Linked DNA regions of Homo sapiens: region 1 is linked to region 2. The links are contacts of gene promoters, found by promoter capture Hi-C in human tissues and cell types (Jung and others, 2019). All regions are on one chromosome and are shown on one strand. Each heading gives the region's core, a stretch centred on a gene start or on the middle of the fragment in contact. The rest is flanking DNA. Distances are from core to core; before and after follow the strand shown.

Region 1 (2,700 bases), core at 87-2,586, 57 kb after region 2:
ACATACTGAGGACTTTCCAAGTCACCTGGTACATGATAAGTGCTTGACATAGGGTAGCTGTTACAATTGTTGTCGATATTAGTATATTACAGCAAAAAACTTGCTTTAATTCTCACATTAGCTGAACAGCATAAAGGGTGAGATGATTTGGTAGTCATGCTGACAAATTGCTTTCCAGCAGTGGGAAGGGAGGCTGCAGGAACAGCAGAGAACAATTCGGGACAAGAAGAAAACAGCAGGGTGCACCAGACGTAGTAATCCCCTAAAACCAAAGGGAAAGCCGCCCGCTCCCACGCAGTAAAACTAGGAGTATCCAGGAATGAACAAACCCGAAAAGAACGTGAGCTGTTTTCCAAAACGGAGACCTCCTCAGAGGATGAGGCCGGGCATTTCCTGGGACAGCCTGTGTTAAGACCACGTGCCCCTTGCCCTAACAACTCACTGTAGTACTCTTCATAGACACATCTTGCAGCATTTCTCTTAATACTATGCTTGTTTTTCTTTCTAAGCCACCACAAGCCATAGTGATAGGTTTGCCCTTTGGTACAAAAGGTGCATTAAAACTGGTGGAAAAGGCTTACTGCATTCTGGATAACCTGTGTGCATACTTTATGAAATCTCTTGTGTGGGGAAAAAAATGCTTTTTACAATTTGACCTAATTATATGCATTGTAAAATAAACACCATTATTTCAAACAAAACACCTATCTTTTTACAATATGTTTTATTTCTGTTTGAATTCTGTTGTTACAATGTTAGTGTTTTAAAATGTGATGGAAAATATAATGCTTCTAAGGAGGAAAGCCAGTGGAATGAATGTTTAAAAGATCTTCATGTGTTTACGGTCTGCAGAAGGATTTTTGTGATGAGAGGGGATTTTTGAAAAATCTAGAGAAGTAGCATATGGAAAATTATAATGTGTTTGTGTGTATATGTGTGTGTGTGTTTTACAAAGATTTCTGCTCTGTTTTTAGCCAGAAACTCTAAAAACTAAAATAATAACAAAGAAAAATAAATAAAAGAGAGACAGAAGTGTCTGGATTCCTGTTTCCTGGTTACCCTGCCATGGTAGACATTCTTTCATTTCATGATCATGATTCTTCTTGTCAACACCGTTTTGAGCAGCACCAGAAAGTGACTTTGTCCCATTAGGACTCAGGTACTAATTAGTCGGCCAACTCTCAAGTATAAGAATAGCCAGCCAGGCGCGGTGGCTCACACCTGTAATCGCAGCACTTTGGGAGGCCGAGGCAGGCAGCTCACCTGAGGTCAGGAGTTCGAGACCAGCCTGACCAACATGGAGAAACCCCGTCTCTACCAAAAATACAAAATTAGCCGGGTGTGGTGGTGGGTACCTGTAATCCCAGCTACTTGGAGAGCTGAGGCAGGAGAATCACTTGAACCCGGGAGGCGGAGGTTGCAGTGAGCTGAGATCATGCCATTGCACTCCAGCCTGGGCAACACAAGCGAAACTCCATCTCAAAAAAATATATATATTGGCCTTTTGCTAACACAGTAAGCATGTATTCTCTATAAAGCATTCAATAAACGCACAATGTCAAGAGGAATTAAAATCCTATCTAATCCCACTCACCACTACACAGAGGTAATCACTGTTAGTATTTTGACATATAATTCTCCAAGTGTTTCTTACGCACTTCTAAAATGATTTGAACAAATAAAATTAGGAGCCTACTATACATGTGTTTCCTAACCTGCCTCCTTCACTCGGTCCTTATTGAGATCAGTTTTCATGTCAAGAAGGTGGATACCACCTCATTTCTAACAGCTGTGTTATATTCCATAGTAGGCATTACTCAACAAACCCTTTGCTCTTGGATACTTAGTTTATTTCTTCACTGACCACACTGAATAAACATCTCAATAGCCAAACATCTGTGCACATCCTTCATTAGTGCCTTGGGATAAGTTGGTTTAAATAGCATTGTTGGGCCAAGGAGTATGCTCAGCAAGGAAAATTATTCATCATGTTGTCAATTATGCCCCAGAATGCTTGGACCATCGGTGTATGGAAATGCTGACTTTCAACCCCTAAGATTGTTTCTCCCTCCCCATATTTGTTATACATTTAAAGTTGGAACTGGTGACCACCTTGGGCAAGCTGCCTCCCTTCATCTGTGAGCCATCAGCTAACAACATTCTCAGCACTTCCAACACTGCTGGCAGCTGGGAAAATGAGTGATTTGAGCATCTCAAAGTATATAGCTAAATGGATGGATGGATAGATGATTGATTTCTTAACTGCCGGAAATGCCTATGCAACCTCCTCTATTTTTTAATGACTCACACTTAATAATAATCCCACTTAATAATAATATAAATCACAATAATAATCACACTTAATAATTATTATTATTACTTAATAATAATGTAACTGGTTAACTAGAGAAACTGAAGAATTAATAGCAGAGCTGCCAATAGATCTTCTCTGCCTTGCCTCCTTTTAAGATACATGAGAACCTACAGAAATAGTCTTAGCTTTTACTTTCCAGTTCTAAACAAATGCAGACTGACCATACTTTTGGTTTCTTTCCTTGGATACCTATAAAATTATTCTATTCTTACAACAAAACCCCTGGACTTGTACTAGCTTGAGGGTGTTTCCTGTTGGGGGAACCTGTCCCTGAGTGAAAAAGAAGGGCAGTTTTTTGTTTTTTGTTTTTTTTGAGACAGAGTCTC
Region 2 (2,700 bases), core at 86-2,585:
CCCTCCCAATTTCTTGTAACCACTCCCTCTCTCTACCCCTTGAAGCCTGTAATGGCTCCCAGACGTCATTAGTGCTGGGACACTGCACTGTCCTTTGGTGGTTTCTTTAAACCCTGCCAAGCTGGGTGTGGTGGCTCATTCCTATAATCCCAGCACTTTAGAAGGCTGAGGTGAGAGGATCACTTGGGACCAGTTTGAGACCAGCCTGGGTAACATAGTGAGTCCCTGTCCCTATGAAAAATCTACAAATTAGCCAGGTGTGGTGGCACACACCTGTAGTACCAGCTACTCGGAAGGCTGAGGTGGGAGGGCTGCTGGAAGCCAGGGGTTCAAGGCTGCAGGGAGCCGTGATCCTGCAACTGTGCTCCAGCCTGGGCAACACAGCATTTGTTGAGTGCTGTCTCAAAAAAAAAAAAGAAAGAAAAAGAAAGGAAAAAAAGGATAACTGACAAACCACAGCTATTCAGACTTGGGACTTGGGAATCTGTTATGTTAATGGGCTGCTTTTTTTGTTTGTGTCTTTGAGGCAGGGTCTCTGTGGCCCAGGCTGGAGTGCACTGGCGCCATCACGACTCACTGCAGCCTCAAAGTTCCAGGCTCGGCTGATCCTCCCACCTCAGCCTCCCGAGTAGCTGGAACCACAGACTCGCATCACCATGCCCGGGTAATTTTTGTATTTTTTTGTAGAGACTGGGTTTCGCCATGTTGGTCGGGCTGATCTTGAACTCCAGACATCAGGTGATCCGCCCGCCTCCACCTCCCCAAGGGCTGGGATTCCAGGCGTGAGCCGCCGCGCCTGGCCTAACGGTTGCCTTTAGGTGAACAAGGCAATGTTGCAGCAGCGTCTGAGCCTTAATTCCTCATCTGATCAATGTCCACAGCCCCAACCCCCGTCACCGAAGGCTCCTGGGGCTCCTCAGTTGTTTCGAGTAGCACAAAGACGTGTGAAGCGGGAGCAGCGCCCTCCCGTCTTCAGGAGGCGACGCCACTATTTGCTCTCTGGGGGACGGGACACCGTCAATGGTCCCGTTCACTAAAGGCCGGCAGCTTCATCTAAAACAAAAGCCGCCGTCCCTGCCCTGGGACCCAAAGATCCAGGAAACGATCCCGTGTCCTCCTGTCCCGCACTAGACCCTGCGTCCTTCTCTGGCCTCCTCTCAGCGCCCAGGCCCGCAACAACGTCCCTCTGTCCACCCGAGGCCAACTTCGTCTGCCTGGGCATCTGCGGGGCGGGAGTGACCCGGGCCTTACCATGGCGAACTCCGCTGCTTCAGCCCAACGCTACTGCCAGACCTCAACCGGCTGCCACAGCTGCTGAGCGCCCAACTGCAACCTCCTGCCTGTGCGCGCCGCACGGGATTGGCCCGCCGGTGCCAGGCCGCCATTGGCTCGGAGTTCCTGGGAGGCGGGCTGAGGGCCGGATCCCAGTTCTGATTGGCCATTGCTCAACATGTGTACTGGGGACGCTCTCTGATTGGATGTAGGATTGGCGGGAAGGCAGCGGGGGTCATCAAAGGCTGCGCGGTTGCTGAGGCATTTCCGGGGTGTCTTCTGACCAGGGTTGGAACAGCTACTGCGCTGCCTCTGTGGGTCGCGGAACATTGCCTTGCTCCCAGTGTGCCACTGCCCCTCCCTGATTGCCCCAGGCCTGCCCCTCTCCCTGCCTAATTCAGATCTTTGCAAACAAGGCCACCTCTGAGAGGCCTTGCCGCCATCTACCCAAGTCACAGCAGCACCGCAATTATCCCCCTCTTCCCTGTTCCCACCCAGCACCTGGGAAGTGGCAGGATTCAATCACTTTTGTGACCCAAAAGGAGAAAACGGGCCGGGCGCGATGGCTAACGCCCGCAATCCCAGCACTTTGGGAGGCCGAGGCGGGTGGATCACCTGAGGTCAAGAGTTCCCAAGACCAGCCTGGCCAATATGGTGAAAACCCGTCTCTACTAAAAATACAAAAATTACCCTGGCTGGTGGTAGGCACCTGTAATCCCAGCTACACGGGAGGCTGAGGTAGGAGAATCGCTTGAAACTGGGAGGCAGTTGTTGCAGTGAGCCGAGATTGGGCCACTGCACACTCCAGCCTGGGCAACAGAGCCATACTCCGTTTCAAAAAAAAAAAAAAAAAAAAAAAAAAGGAAGAAAGGAGGCAAAATTAACGTAAGTGGAGACGTTGGGTCAGGCACACCAGCTCATGCCTGTAATTCCAATGCTTTGGGAGGCCATGGCAGGAGGACTGCTTCAGGTCAGGAGTTCAAGACCAGCCTGGGCAACGTGGTGAGACCCACCTTGCCCGTTTTTACAAAAAATACAAAAAAATAAAATAAAATTAGCAAGGCACGGTGGCGCATGCCTGTAATCCCAGCTACTCAGGAGGCTGAGGCAGGAGAATCCCTTGAACCTGGGAGGCAGAGGTTGCAGTGAGCTGAGATCACGCCACTGCACTCAAGCCTGGGCGACAGAGCGAAACTCCATCTTGAAAAAAAAATAGAGTTTATTTGGGCCAAGTTTGAGAAGTGCAACCCTGGAGATGCAAGTTGTCTTAATATATTGGCAGCAGTTATAAGTGGGTTTTATAAAGGAAAAGAAGAGGCAGTTCCTAAGTTGTTTACCAAGAATTTGAAATTAGAGAAGAAGTCTTGCTGTGTTGTCCAGGCTAGTCTTGAACTCCTGACCTGAAGGGATCCTCCCACCTTGGCTGGC

What was found. The method cuts DNA at HindIII sites, captures the fragments that hold promoters and counts their contacts. A contact is called where the count stands out against the background at its distance.
Region 1: a fragment that was not itself captured here is called in contact with the fragment with the promoter of TUBA3D in region 2 in 1 of the 25 tissues and cell types used here (adrenal gland).

What each region holds. Positions count from the first base shown.
Region 1 is chr2:131,417,258-131,419,957 of GRCh38, reverse strand. No RefSeq gene overlaps it. Among named protein-coding and RNA genes, the nearest start is that of LINC01120, 16 kb to the right of the region's middle. The HindIII fragment of the contact is 3,797 bases long and covers 1-2,700 here.
Region 2 is chr2:131,474,754-131,477,453 of GRCh38, reverse strand. It overlaps TUBA3D (tubulin alpha 3d), which reads right to left and starts at 1,335. Exons shown (of 5, transcript NM_080386.4): 1 at 1,252-1,335. The coding sequence starts at 1,254. It also overlaps a transcript of MZT2A not described here. The HindIII fragment of the contact is 16,461 bases long and covers 1-2,700 here.